5 separate regions of the Homo sapiens genome follow, and regions 2, 3, 4 and 5 are each linked to region 1. The links are contacts of gene promoters, found by promoter capture Hi-C in blood cells and fetal thymus (Javierre and others, 2016). All regions are on one chromosome and are shown on one strand. The core of a region is centred on a gene start or on the middle of the fragment in contact, and the rest is flanking DNA. Distances in the headings are between cores, read along the strand shown.

Evidence for each region. Contacts are between HindIII fragments. The CHiCAGO score rates a contact against its expected background, and 5 or more counts as called.
Region 2: the fragment with the promoter of MFGE8 here is called in contact with the fragment with the promoter of MRPL46 in region 1 in 1 of 17 cell types (total CD4 T cells); the score reaches 5.7 in total CD4 T cells.
Region 3: a contact is called between a fragment that was not itself captured here and the fragment with the promoter of MRPL46 in region 1, in 8 of 17 cell types (naive CD4 T cells, total CD4 T cells, non-activated CD4 T cells and 5 more). The highest score is 9.2, in naive CD4 T cells.
Region 4: a contact is called between a fragment that was not itself captured here and the fragment with the promoter of MRPL46 in region 1, in 6 of 17 cell types (megakaryocytes, naive CD4 T cells, total CD4 T cells and 3 more). The highest score is 6.6, in megakaryocytes.
Region 5: a contact is called between a fragment that was not itself captured here and the fragment with the promoter of MRPL46 in region 1, in 1 of 17 cell types (endothelial precursors). The highest score is 5.4, in endothelial precursors.

Annotation. Positions count from the first base shown.
Region 1 is chr15:88,466,033-88,468,847 of GRCh38, reverse strand. MRPL46 (mitochondrial ribosomal protein L46) reads left to right here and starts at 1,460. Exons shown (of 4, transcript NM_022163.4): 1 at 1,460-1,698. The coding sequence starts at 1,471. MRPS11 (mitochondrial ribosomal protein S11) reads right to left here and starts at 1,140. Exons shown (of 6, transcript NM_022839.5): 1 at 1,066-1,140; 2 at 824-940. The coding sequence starts at 1,130. RefSeq lists enhancers at 1,290-1,459, 1,926-2,815. The HindIII fragment of the contact is 6,788 bases long and covers 1-2,815 here.
Region 2 is chr15:88,911,962-88,914,776 of GRCh38, reverse strand. It overlaps MFGE8 (milk fat globule EGF and factor V/VIII domain containing), which reads left to right and starts at 1,398. Exons shown (of 8, transcript NM_005928.4): 1 at 1,398-1,530. The coding sequence starts at 1,458. RefSeq lists an enhancer at 1,657-2,188. The HindIII fragment of the contact is 11,396 bases long and covers 1-2,815 here.
Region 3 is chr15:88,877,966-88,880,780 of GRCh38, reverse strand. HAPLN3 (hyaluronan and proteoglycan link protein 3) reads left to right here. Exons shown (of 5, transcript NM_178232.4): 4 at 1,512-1,814; 5 at 2,525-2,815. The coding sequence ends at 2,811. Among named protein-coding and RNA genes, the nearest start is that of HAPLN3, 16 kb to the left of the region's middle. RefSeq lists an enhancer at 1,656-2,231. The HindIII fragment of the contact is 2,785 bases long and covers 1-2,752 here.
Region 4 is chr15:88,857,095-88,859,909 of GRCh38, reverse strand. ACAN (aggrecan) reads right to left here. Exons shown (of 19, transcript NM_001369268.1): 12 at 493-2,815. Among named protein-coding and RNA genes, the nearest start is that of HAPLN3, 37 kb to the left of the region's middle. The HindIII fragment of the contact is 8,083 bases long and covers 1-2,815 here.
Region 5 is chr15:88,810,614-88,813,428 of GRCh38, reverse strand. The region is part of intron 1 of ACAN (aggrecan); the gene reads right to left. Among named protein-coding and RNA genes, the nearest start is that of ACAN, 8.6 kb to the right of the region's middle. The HindIII fragment of the contact is 1,391 bases long and covers 757-2,147 here.

The DNA of each region.
Region 1 (2,815 bases), core at 211-2,710:
AGTGGAGACGGGGTTTCGCCATGTTGGCCAGGCTGGTCTCGATCTCCTGACCTCAAGTAATTCGCCCACCTTGGCCGCCTAAAGTGCTGGGATTAAAGGCATGAGCTACTGCACCCGGCCAGGAGTTAGACACTTATGATTTCATACTTCCAACCAATGCTTACCTCCATTATATTATTGAGCAGATTATGGTTAAAATGTTTGCATGTTTGTCTTCCCTCAAAGACTGTGAACTACTTGTGGGGAGGAATGATCTTTTGTATCTGTATTCACGGCACCTAGCATGGTGTCTCACTCATAGTAGATTCTTGGTAAATGTTTGTTAAATGGATGTGAAGTTAAGTGGATGTGTATACAGCATACAGAGGTGGTGGCACTGGTGGGAAGCAAGATGCCAGTTCCTAGGGCTGAGCACAAAACCCACCCTGGACCATCCGTAAGACGTGCAGGAACATCTGTTCCATCGCTAGCGCCCTCTACCTCCCCATTTTGTTTTGGAGGCAGGGAAGGTTATTGGTCTGAAAAGATCTCCATCTCAGAAGAAAAGAACGCTGATACATGTTATGGATATCTCACATTCACTCATTGATTTAACGAATGTTCACTGAACATTTACTCTGTACCACGGCTCATCTGATTCTCACAACCTCTCTCAGCATTATCCGCATTTTTAGATGAGAAGGCTGAGGCTCAGATTTATTTGCATAAGGTCCCACGGATAGCAAGTGACATAGCTGAAAATTCACTGGTTCTGACTCTGGAGGGTGTCGGGCAAGAGTCAGGGGTTGCGGGTCTCCAGAGGGCTGGTCCAAGTGGGGCTCACCTGAACTTGGTGTGGCTGGGAGCCGCGTTCTGTTCAACTTTCTGCTTGGCCGCAGCGTCTTGGAGCTGTCGAGCGCCTGTGCAGATGGTCCCGGCCGGCGTTCTGGCCACGACCCTGCTGGGAAGAAAAGCTCGGTGAGGGCCACGGCCTAACGGTCACTGGGGCCCGGGTGGCTCAAGGGACACGAGTAGGAGCATAGTCCTGGAGGTGGCGGTGGGCTCGAGGGGGCAGTCATTTGTTACCCGGCTGTCTGGGGCCAAGTCCAGGACCGCAGGAACCGCGACCCCGCGTTTCTCACAGCCTGCATGACTTGAATTGACCCCAGTCAGTTTCCGTCTGCAGCGACAGTCACAGCTGCGCCGGCGCCGGTACCATGAGTGCCTGTCGGGGAGGGGACAGAAGGGAAAGTCATCTACTCTTCATTAGGTCCACTGAATATTTTTATTTCCATTTAAATGCTCAATAAGACTTTCACTGTAGTTCACCAGGGGATTCTTTCCCTTTTTTAATGTTCTGAGATGGTGGGTCACCCCCTCCATATGCGAATGGTTCGTTCTAGCAGTTCCGGGACTGAGCTTTCCCCTAGTTTGCCGCTCCCGCGGCTGAGGGATCCCTGGGAGCCGCGGTGCATTGTGGGAGAACGAAAGATGGCGGCGCCCGTAAGGCGGACGCTGTTAGGGGTGGCGGGGGGTTGGCGGCGGTTCGAGAGGCTCTGGGCCGGCAGTCTAAGCTCTCGCAGCCTGGCTCTTGCAGCCGCACCCTCAAGCAACGGATCCCCATGGCGCTTGTTGGGCGCGTTGTGCCTGCAGCGGCCACCTGTAGTCTCCAAGCCGTTGACCCCATTGCAGGAAGAGATGGCGTCTCTACTGCAGCAGGTGGGACTGAGATGCAGGGTTCAGAGTGACGTTTATTCTGCGTGACTTTGAGCGAGTAATTTCACCTCTCTGAACTTAAGTATACGGTACTTATCCGCAGAATGGTACCTACCTTACTGACTTGGTTTGGTACATAGATGTTCAACAAAAAGTGGTTTCTTTTCATTGGCCGTGTTTATTGTCACCTTAGACAACTCTTTGGAGATACTCTACTTCTTGTTCATGCAACACAATAGGGATCCTGTGGTGAACAAGAATCGGTCCGTGTCACTAGGAGCTTACAAGTCTGGAGGGAGAAAGTCTTTGTGATGTGATGAATGTTAAGAAGGAAATACAAGAGGCGGTGGGCACATCTGTCAGATGCCTATGATAAGCCTACTCTGTTTTATCTCATGGGGCTATCTGTGTGAGGGGCAAGTGAGGAAGCATGGGCAAAAACAGTGTAGTGGCTGTGAAGGTGTGAGGTCGCTACAGAAAGTGTTTGAAGGGTGATATGTTTCCTCAGAATCCGAGATGTTTTTGTCTTGGTCTGTTGAGAACTATAAACTTCTCTTCTGTGCTTTTTGCTTGATTTATTCATTTACTCGCTCGCTTGACAAATATTTGTTACTCAACCTACAGATGTTCATTGTGCCCATACTATGCATCAGAGAGTATGTTAAGTGATAGAGATGCTGTAATGAATAAGGCAGAAGTAGCTCTGGTTCTCAGAGTACTTCAGTCTAGTTGAGTGAGGGGATCAGTCAGTAACCAAATAATCATACAACTAAATGCAGACCCTGATAAGTGTTGTTAAGGAAAACACAAGGCACTATAAGAGTGTTTAACAAATACATCACATTTTGATTTTATGGTGAGTGTCAAGGAATGCCTCAGACTTTCTGAATACAGGTTTTTCTCTTTATGAGAAATGTCTCTCTGAGACAGTCATATTTAAATTGAAATCAGAAAGATGAGTAGGACTCTCCCAGAAGAAAGAATGTGAGGAAAAACATTCTAGGAAGAAGGAACAACCTCTTGAAAGTCCCTGAACAGGAAAGTCCTTGGTGAGTGAGATTCTGATCAAAGACTGACATGACTGGATTGTGGTGAGTCAGCAGGCATTGCCCAACCCAGC
Region 2 (2,815 bases), core at 149-2,648, 450 kb before region 1:
CTCAGCCTCCTGAGTAGCTGGGACTACAGGCATGCGCCTGGAATATTTTTGTATTTCTTTTTTTGTAGAAACAGGGTTTTGCCATGTTGCCCAGGAAGGTCTCGAACTCTTGAGCTTAAGTGATATGCCTACCTCGGCCTCCCCAAGAGCTGGCATTACAGGCTTGAGTCACCACTCCCAGCCTGAAGCATTATTATTATTATTATTATTATTATTATTATTATTATTATTAGAGACAGAGTCTCACTGTGTCACCCAGGCTGGAGTGCAGTGGCATGATCTCGGCTCACTGGGACCTCTGCCGCCTGGGTTCAAGCGATTCTCCTGCCTCAGCCTCCCGAGTAGCTGGGATTACAGGCACCTGCCACTGCGCCCGGCTAATTTTTGTATTTTTAGTAGAGACGGGGTTTCACCATCTTGGCCAGGCTGGTCTTGAACTCCGACCTCAGGTGTTCCACGTGCCTCGGCCTCCCAAAGTGCTGGGATTACAGGTGTGAGCCACCGCACCCAGCCAAAACACTATTATTAAAATCACTTATTTGTAAACAGGTAATATTTGCACATGATAAGTACAAATCATTTAGTAAAAAGTCAACGGTGACAGGCTTGCTTTGTTTTATTCCCTTTCGGCAAACAGGTGCCCATTTCCTCGCATTTTGTCTATGGTGCCTTTCTTGCAACAAAGGCAGAGATGAATAGCTGCTACAGAGACTCAGGGCCTACATATCAGAGAACATTTTCTATTAGGCCCTTTACAGAAACCTTCGCTGATTTTTTTTTTTTAGTATTTTACCATTTCAGACAATGTTGCTATGCTATCTTTGTATATCTGTCATTTTGCACATGGGAGTTTCTGTAGAATGAATCTCTCTATGTGGAAATGCTAGGTCTTAAGGTGTCAGCATTTGTCGTTTTGATAGGTGTTACCAAATAGCCCTCTAGGGAAGTTGAACTAATTTATACTGTCTTCAGCGAAGCATGCTTGGACCTGTTCCCCACAGCCTCCACTAACCTTGTTAACATCTTGATACTTGCCGATCCGAGAAGGGAAACACGATGCTCATTGTAGTTTTAATTTGCATCTATCTGATTATGAATAAAGAGTTAGCATCTTTTCAAGTCTAAAAATCTTAAAAACAAAACTCCTGAACTTTTCCCGCCCAACAGACTCAAGACTCGTGACCCGGCCGTTGGCACGACGCGGGACGCCGGTGTGGCAGTGGCGGAAGAGGCAGATATCGCGGACCACCCCCGCGCCCCCCAATTCCTTTCAACCAATTCCCTCCCAGCCGCGGAGCCCCGCCCCCAGTCCGCCTCTGGCCAGCTTGGGCGGAGCGCACGGCCAGTGGGAGGTGCTGAGCCGCCTGATTTATTCCGGTCCCAGAGGAGAAGGCGCCAGAACCCCGCGGGGTCTGAGCAGCCCAGCGTGCCCATTCCAGCGCCCGCGTCCCCGCAGCATGCCGCGCCCCCGCCTGCTGGCCGCGCTGTGCGGCGCGCTGCTCTGCGCCCCCAGCCTCCTCGTCGCCCTGGGTGAGTGGATCGCGCCGCCCTCTGCCCCTCGCCCCTCCTCCCCGCGCCGCTCGGAAGTTTGCCCGGCGCCCGCCCTCCACCTCCACTGTTGACAAACTTAGACAAAGCCCCGGGGACCGGGCTGGGCAGAGGGGCGGCTTCTTCCGCTGCGCCCTGGCGGGACAGGGGGATGCGGCCCTGCTGTCTCTGCGCTGGGGCTTTTGGGCTGGGACTCGGGACATCGGGTGACAGCCCTGCCGCCCCCAGGGATGCGGCTTACAGATAATGACAAAGGAATCCGCTGTGTCGGGCCTCTCTTTTCCCTGGTGAAAAATGAGGCCAGGGAACTGCGTTTGACTTTCGAACCCCTTCCACCTGGGAGATTCTAGGACTCTAGTATGGATAAGTCTTGTCTGGATAACTTTGTCCTGGCCATCTCCCTGCCAACTCCAGTTGGCTGGACAGTTCATTGGATTTTTGCGCTCCCAATTGTCCGTGCCTGGTCACATAAGGGAAGGGCCGGGGAGTCGGTGCAATGGACGCAGGCCGTAAGTGGGGCCCGGGAGGGGACCCAGAGGCTTCGAGGAGCTTGGAAGAGGGCTGCCTGCTGATGGGAGTCTCCTGACTCCCTCCCTCCCGCGGCCTTGGCCGGCTGCTGTATCTTCCCCGGTCCTCCTCCGCCTCCCAGGAGGCCTCCGGAGGCCAGCTGGGCCCCTTGCAGGCTGGACTTGCGGATGCCCCGTGCCATTCACCGTGGAGCGCTGGGAGGGAGTCAGGGCCAGGACTCTTTAGGTGGCCCCTCCATCATTTTCTCATAGAAATGGGATTGACTGAAGCAAGGTAGGTAACAGCTGAGCCCCAGCCCTATGTCCTGTGATCTGCCTGACCCTCGGGGCTAGAGCTTCCAGAGTGCTCCAAGCTCCCAGGAACTTGGGAGCTCCTGGCCCTCCCCGGCCACCATGAAAGACAGCTGGATCTTCTTAGCCCCTTTCTACTCTTCCCTGTACCCCCCAACCTGAACTCTGGCCAAATGTTACTGGAAAGTCCCCGAAAGAGCAGGACTCTGAAGTCCCAAAGATGTTTTTATACAGGGTGATGTGGCCTTTTCCAGAAGGAGGAAACACCATACCTATCTTACACACAGGTAACGTGGCTGGGTAGAGTACACCTTTCCCTTTCCCTTTTTCCCACTGGACCGTTTTGCCCTGGAGCAGTGTAGGGAGAGGGCCGGTGCAGTTGGGAGGGAAGAGTCCATTCCCAACCCAAGCCTCTGTCTGTGTCAATGCTCGCCCCCGCCTGCCAGGTC
Region 3 (2,815 bases), core at 111-2,610, 410 kb before region 1:
TAAAAACCTCCTTTTTAAAAACAAAACAAAACAAAAAACAAACAAAAAGCCCCCCCAAAACCAAAAACAAAAACCCAGTGCTGTCCAAACCAGCCACACCCTGCAAGCCGGATCTTGTATGTGGGGTCCCTGTTTGATCTTTAATTTGTATTTACCTTCTCTGTCTCTAGGATGGGGCTGTGTGTCCTCACATCTCTCCCACATGTTAGGGAGGCAGTTCGGGGATAGAGGAAGGTGACCTGACTTTAGCCCCAGCCCGTCCCAGCTATGACATGTGGGTAAATGCCTCATCCCCCTTAGAGCCCTGGGCCTCTCAGGTGTAAAATGGGGTATCACAATCTTTCCTCCTTTACCTCCCTCAGAGGCAATGAGGATAAGATGTATGTCCTTAAAATGCGTTCTCTGTCTTTGCCACCAGTGTCCACATGGCTTACATGGTGGCTCAGAGGGGCCGCATTCCTCATTCTTGAAGTTGGGGTGGCAGTGGAGTTGGGGAGAACCTGCAAGAGTCATTGGTCTGGGGTCTGCAGGGGCAGCCTAGAGAAACAGGGAGCCCTCACCCCATTCCCGGGGCTTCAAGGGCTAGGAATTTGGGGTGGAACCAGGCATGAAATAGTCCCCCTGCAAACACACGTAGAGGCTGCAAGCTGACTGTCAGGGCCCATGGGCTTCTCTGCCGCCCAACCTGGCTTTGCCCAGGTGCCTGGCTTCCGGCCCTGGTGAGATCGGAGGTTTGGGGCTCAGGCTGTTCCTGGGTCCTTGGCCACACGGAGGAGATTCCAAAGTGTCCTTCCCAGACCCCTAGGGTCACCTCCACTCCCTAAGGTTTCATTGACTTGGTAGAGACTACATCTCAGAAGTTTAAAAACTTTTTATTAGAGTAAAATTTCAAACACGAACATATCTTTTCAGGGCCTGTGGCCTCTATCAGACCCTGACCACAAGGAGAGAAACCGCCTGCCCCAGACCTCCCTGCCCTTGAGCCTCCTTTATGGAAGGCCCTTCCCCAACCCTCTCCCCACGGCCTCTAGGGCCTCTCCTTCTCCTGAAAATCATCTGCCACACGTGGAAAGTTCCTTGCATTTTCCTAGGAAATTTCCACATTCATAATAACGTAGACGATCGGGTCCCAGCTAACGAGTGGGGAGCTGGGAGTCAAACCTGGCCCCTAGAGCCCAAAGCCCGGGCCTGTCTGGAGAAGATGGCACAGCCTCACTGGGGGTCTGGCGACAGCCTTGCGGATTAGGTTGGGGACATTGTTGGGGACATTAATGGACTAATTAATTACCTTAACTCATGGATGTTTTCTGAGTACTGCTGTGAACCAGCTGAGTCCCAGGAGAGAGGCGGCAACGGACAGGAGGTCAGAGGTTTGCTGAGTTTTTCTGAGGGATGGTGTATGTGTGTGTGTTGCAGGCAGCACATGTCCCAGTGAAGGTGGGAGGAGAGCGGGGTGTCCAGCCAGCTGGGCCCCTGGCCACCCCCTAAGCTCCTCTTTCCTTCCCCTGCAGGTGTGGTCTTTCCTTACCAGTCCCCCAACGGGCGCTACCAGTTCAACTTCCACGAGGGCCAGCAGGTCTGTGCAGAGCAGGCTGCGGTGGTGGCCTCCTTTGAGCAGCTCTTCCGGGCCTGGGAGGAGGGCCTGGACTGGTGCAACGCGGGCTGGCTGCAGGATGCCACGGTGCAGTACCCCATCATGTTGCCCCGGCAGCCCTGCGGTGGCCCGGGCCTGGCACCTGGCGTGCGAAGCTACGGCCCCCGCCACCGCCGCCTGCACCGCTATGATGTATTCTGCTTCGCTACTGCCCTCAAGGGTGAGTGGAATAGCCAAGCGCGGGCCTGTGGGTTTGGTGGCCACCTGGGACCTGTGAGAGGGCAGCTTCTGGGGAGCTCTGGCCCCCTCTGCTGGCTCTGCTGGTACTGCCACCTGGAGGCCAAGAGCACCAGCCACCCTAGAAGCAGCATCTGGTTGAGTTTTGAGTGCTTTGCTGCTGCTGCGTTATGCAGGGCATAAATCATTGGTTTCTTCATTCATCAAATGTTTACTGAGTGCCTACCATATGCTGGGGCCTAGACTAGGCTCTCGGGAATCACAGACGAATAAAACACAGCCTGTCTTCACAAAGCAGCTCATTTCGTAGGAAGATGAACAAGTAAAAACAGAAACTGGTTCAGTGTCATATGCCAAGCCCTTGGAAAAGTGTCTGACACATAGTAGGTGTTCAGTAAATGACCGAATGGGCAAGAGACTCTGACTGGTCCAGCCTAGGTGGGGTGCCCACCCACCTAAATAGGGAAGGGTGGTGGGGGAGTGCAGACATGTCTGGAGGGACCTGGGTTCTATGGCAGGTGGGACAGAGCTCTCTGGGACAGGGTGAAGATTAGAAAGTGTTCTCTGCAGATGCCTGCAGTATGGTAGCTCCCTGGGCTCAGACGGGTCTTTGGGGCTGGCATCTCTGCAGACCCCGCTGTGCTCTCTGGCTGCCCCCTGCGCTGTACGGCACTCACGCCCCCTTTCCCCCAGGGCGGGTGTACTACCTGGAGCACCCTGAGAAGCTGACGCTGACAGAGGCAAGGGAGGCCTGCCAGGAAGATGATGCCACGATCGCCAAGGTGGGACAGCTCTTTGCCGCCTGGAAGTTCCATGGCCTGGACCGCTGCGACGCTGGCTGGCTGGCAGATGGTAGCGTCCGCTACCCTGTGGTTCACCCGCATCCTAACTGTGGGCCCCCAGAGCCTGGGGTCCGAAGCTTTGGCTTCCCCGACCCGCAGAGCCGCTTGTACGGTGTTTACTGCTACCGCCAGCACTAGGACC
Region 4 (2,815 bases), core at 212-2,711, 390 kb before region 1:
GCAGGTTTTAACCCTGCACAAAATAAATATTCAGACATAAACACCATCAGCAGATTTACTCTCTCATCTTACACTCACTCCGGGGCAGGGTGCATGAGCAGAATTTCTAGCACTATCTAGACAGTCATCCTTCTCTCCCTGTGCCAAGTACAGATAGTTGAATTCACGTGTAAAAACTCACGGACTGTAACTCCGCTGTAACGATAACATCACTCATCTTTACAAGTGTGCACTGCATGCAGAGCGTGATGCTAAGTGCTTGCTTTATCTATCTATGTTTATGTTCTGCCTAATCTTCCCTGGTAGAGTATTATCCTACTCTTACGTTACAGATGAGGCTCAGAGAGGGGAAGACTATTGCCTGAGGCTGCACAGCTAACCTTTGGTGGAGTTGTTCTTGGAACCTTAAAGCTATGCTGCCTCCTTCTGTGCTGCAGTAGGCTACAGTCTGAACTACCTAAGCACATTTAAAGGGGGAAAAAATCACAATACCTGCAGCAGTTGATTCTGATTCACGTTTCCATTCCGGAGAAGCTGGGATGGAAGCATCTGTTGGGGAGGTGGCTGTTTCGACTGTGTGAGTCTCTTCTCCTGAGTACAGGAGGCTTGAGGACTCAATTTCTAGATGCGTCTCTGCAGGGCGCTGGGTCTGCTGGGTCCACTCAGACTCTGGGATGCTGGTGCTGATGACAACGCCCAGCTGCGAGGTGTGACCAGACAGGTCTCCGCTGATTTCAGTCCTGTCTCCAGAAGCCGTGGGAGTGGCTGAAGGCAAGCCTGGTGCCTCTGTCCCCACATCACTGGTGGTGGTGGATTCTCCACTCACTTCTGGGGCAGCGGACGCCTCGCCTTCTTGAAATGTCAAAGTGCTGCCGCTCACTCCTAGGCCAGAGGATCTCTCAAGGTTAGCTTCGTGGAATGCAGAGGTGGTTTCACTCAGATCAGGGGACCCAGAATCTTCTCTGCTGGCCTCAGGGGCGGCAGATGCCCCGAACCCAGCTTCAGGATAGGCGGACGTCTCACTGCTAGATTCTGGGACTGATGATACTTCTACTCCAGACCCAGGGAGCACTGGGGTAGCTCCACTAATGTCCCCAGCTGTGGAGACTTTTCCACTGGACTCAAAAAGCTGGGGTGTGTGTGTCACAGGGGGCCTTTGGCCTAGTTCCTGAGAAATAGTTGGTTCAGTAACACCCTCCACGAACTCAGAAGTGATTAAAGTAACTTCTGGAAGTCCTGAGGCCTCTCCACTGGTGCCCATGGCTACAGAGGATTCTCCACTTACATTGGTGGTGCTGGCAAAATCCCCACTAAAATATGGAGTACCTGGTGGCTCTCCGCTGGGCTCTATCAGCCCGGACTGCAGCCCACTTAGGTCCAGAAATCCAGAATGCTCCCCAGACATGTCTGGTGCTCCAGAATGAGCACCACTGAGTTCTAAAATGCCAGAAGGCCCTTCTCCTGCCTCTTGGGCTGTTGGAGCCTGGGTTACAGATTCCACCAAAGTTCTGTCTACAAGAGAGACAGTGGGGAAACTAGATGGAGTTCCACTGCCATAATATGCTCCCGAGGGCAGGCTGCTCCCAATCTCAGCTCTGGAGGATTCTCCACTGACCTCAGCTATGCCACTTGGTAGGCCACTGAATTCCGGAGTCTGGGATGTAAACCCACTGGAATCGACTGTTCCAGAAAACTGTCCACTGACATCCACCATCCCAGATTTGCCTGACAGATCTGCCTCTCCGGAAGGGAGGCCACTGAGTTCCACAGACCCTAAGCCTTCTTCTTCTTTAAATGTAGTAGGGGCCACTTCAACCAAACTGGTGTCCACAAATGTAATCCCAGAAGATTCACCGCTGCCACTCGTGGTACCAGAAACCAGGTCAGGGACTCCTGATGTTGCCCCACTGAACCCTGGTAACCCTGAAGGCTGCCCACTGAGATCAGGGACCCCAGATGTTTCTCCACTCAGATCAGTTATGCCAAAGGGTTGACTAGTGCCATAAAGAACTCCAGATGCTTCTCCACTAATACCTGGTTGTCCAGAGGACAGCCCGCTAAGCTCAGTCACTCCAGATGTTTCCCCACTAGTGTCAGGAAACCCTGATGGCTGTCCACTGACACCAAAGAGTCCAGGTATTTCCCCACTGACATCAGGAGACCCAGATGCTTGGCCACTGAGTTCAGTTCCTGAAGGGAGTCCACTAGCTCTCCCACTAATGTCCAGCTCACTGGAGGGCAGTCCAGATATTTCTCCTGCACCACTGATGCCAATGGTTCCCCTCCCTTCCAGTTCACTTGCAGTGGAGGCTGTGACCACTTCCACCAATGTAGAATCCACTAGGGAAACAGTTGGGAATCCAGATGGAAGTCCACTAAAGTCAGGCAGGCCAGAGGGTGGGCCACTTCCAAGGTCCACCCCAGAATACTCACCACTAAATCCAGAGGGAAGACCACTTGTTTCTGGAGCTTGCCCACTTCCTAGAGTTCCAGAAGGCAGTTTGCCCAAGTCCAAGTCTCCAGAAGCTGACCCCACCAAGTCTTCTTTTCCAGAAGGCAACCCACTGAGGTCCTCAGCTCCAGAAGCTGAAGTCTCTAGACCCTCCCTTCCAGAAGGAAGCCCACTGAGGTCAGTCCCTACTTCAGAAGCAGAGGTCTCTAGACCTTCTCCTCCAGAAGGAAGTCCACTGAGGTCCCCAAATCCAGAGGCAGAAATCTCTAGAACTTCTTCTCCAGAAGGGAGCCTGCTGAGGTCCTCTACTCCAGAAGCAGAGGTCTCTAGACCTTCTCCTGAAGGAAGTTCACTGACATCCTC
Region 5 (2,815 bases), core at 203-2,702, 340 kb before region 1:
GCAGAGTCCCTGAGCCATGGCCACAGTAAAGACATATTCTTTTCTGAGTCCCAGATTTCCTATATATGACAAGAGCAGAGTGCAACATATCAGTGGCTTTCAAAAGACAGAAAACTGGAGATGTTCTAATAGAATGTGGCTGTACACTTCTTGACCCACCTCTCTAGCCCCCATGGGGTATCATGGACTGACCCCCGCGGACTCTGAAGCATGGTTTGAAAAGCTCTGAAGTTATTTGTCCAGCCAACAAACTTTTCTTGACCACCTACTGTGTGCCAAGCATTTCCTAGGTGCTGGAGACACAGAGTGACCAAGACAGATGGGGCTCATGTCCCATGCAGCTTTTGCTGCATGGAGATTTCCAAGGTCCATCAGCATATTAAGAAGGGACCCAAAATTAACTAGGGTTAATTTTGTTCAACCTTGACTTTCTCTGAGGGATGAGATCCTTTTCACCTACAAAGCCTGTTGCTGGCCTTGGAAGGCATGTTCTATAGAAACCATCTTGGAGAACCAAGGGAGAAAAGGTCCCTGTCTCAGGAAGGGAAGTGGAGACAGGAGAAACTGGCCATGACCTCCTCACTCCCCTTGGTGCAGTGAGAAGGAGTGCTCTTTGTGGAGCTCAGGAGGGCAGAGAATCACCAAGGAAACTGACCAGCCAGAATTTCTAGATAATGATAAGTTAAAGAAAAATGCAGGGGATGGGAGTGGGGGTGTTTGTTTTCTTTAAATCAGATGGGCACAAAAAGAAAAGCTTCCCAAGAGGAGGTGACATTTGAACTTGCATGACCAGAATGAACCAGCCATGCAAAGCCCTGTGGGAAGAGCACCTGGGCAGGGGGACCGAGAGGGCAAAAGTCCTGAAGGAAGTGAGAGGCCAGGGGCTGCAGGGAGGTGGAGGAGGGGAGAATGATGTGAGGAGGAGGGGATACCAGCCAGCTTGGGGGCCTGTAGGCCAAGGCTAGGGATTGGGCTTGATTTTAAGTGAGACAGGACCATCTCTAAGGTCTTCTAAATGCCTCTGCAATCCCCAGGGGGCTGAGAGGAAATATGCAAATAACCTTGATCAATTGCTGTGTGCATCCAAGGGCGAGTCATTCTGTGCAGTACTTGCAGTGACTTAGGAGGGGGTGGGAGTCCTGTTTTCCAACCGCTGAAGCATCAGCCTTATCTGGTGTACATAAGTCTTGCTGACCCTGCTGTGTGCAAACCCGGGAGTCCCTGGGTCACTGAGAAGGCAGATCCAGAGAAGAGGGCAGATGGGGAGGGCCTAGATGGGGCTGCAGGAGGCCGAGGCGCTAACCCGAGGGCTAGGCTCCTCCTTCGCTAATGAAGCCATCCCCACTCCTAACCCTCCTCCCGCTCAGGAGTGGGTGTGGAGGCAATCTAAGCAATCAGGTCTCCCACACCAGGAGACCCTCTGTCAAAATATTGACAAGTCACAACAGAGACCCACTTGGGTTGCGTTTAGGAAACAAGTGGGAATCTCAGAACAAGGCTGCTTTAGGGGGATGGGGGAGAACAAAGCACCTGGCTGGGTCACGTGAGTCTGGGGTGGGGGTGATGCCCATGGATGGGGCAGTGAAGTCAGGCGACAGAGACAAGCATGCAAGCAGGGCACCTCTTTACTCAGCTCCAGGGGGCTGCTGTTCACCCCCATTGGTGCTAGTCCAAGTCTTCCAGGGGACTGGCACCCACTGGAGTCACCCAACAGGCCAGGGAACAACAGAGGGTTAGGCCCTCAGCTCACATAGGGGAGGCAGGTGGCCAGGTATGGATAGGGAACAAGTGGAGAGGCAGGAATCCCCTGGGGTCAGAGCCCCACCCCACCCCACAGTGAACTCCACTGAATGTTCTACCTCATTGTTGTCTTCTAATCCACAGAAAAAGGAAGAAAATGAGTACCCAGCATGGCCAGCCTTTAGAGGGAAGGTTACAGATGTGAGATGTGGGGCTTGGAGAGCGCTTGCTGGGTCAGTGAGTTCATTTGAGATTTAGGATTTTAAGCCCTACCTGGTGGGGTCTCCCCTTGCCCCTTGGCCTGGGTGCAGCTGCTGTATTCCTGCTGCAGGCTCAACCTGGGCCCGTGCCTAGATTAGCATCTTTTTAGGCTCAAGTCCCTCCATCTGCTTTAGGAAAAAAAAGCTTCACGGTCAAATTCAGTTTGAAAAACTTGGTGATTTCCAAGGTCCATCAGCATTTTGAGAAGCCCTGCAGGGAAGAGACCCAAAATTAACTAGGGTTAATTTTGTTCATCCTTGACTTTCTCTGAGGGATGAGATCCTTTTCACCTACAAAGCCTGTTGCTGGCCTTGGAAGGCGTGTTCTATACAAACCACCTTGGAGAACCAAGGGAGGAAGGGCCCCTGTCTCAGGCAGGGAAGTGAAGACAGGAGAAGCTGGCCATGACCTTCTCACTCCCCTAAAGGACAAACTGGGGGCAGTGGCTGTAGTCCTGCCCTTGGGGAAGGAAGAGAGCAAGTGGCCCAAGAGGCAGGGCTAGAGAGAAGATCTTAGAACCAAATACACTCTGAGGAACTGTTTTGGGCTTTAAACTAGGAGTTGACAAACTAGACCACAATGGAATCACCTGGGGCAATTTTGAAAACCACAGATTCCCCGCCTCCAAGCCCCCATCTCACTGAAGCAGAATCTCTTGGAGCACATTAGGGCTTCAGCCACCCGTATTTTTGAAAAGCTCCTTAGATGCAGCTAATTTTAGGGACTGAAGGCTAACTCTAATGACACCTCCAGGCCTCCTTTTCAGTGTCTTGTGACGTTGAAAAACATTTACTACATTCCTGCCTGAGTCATC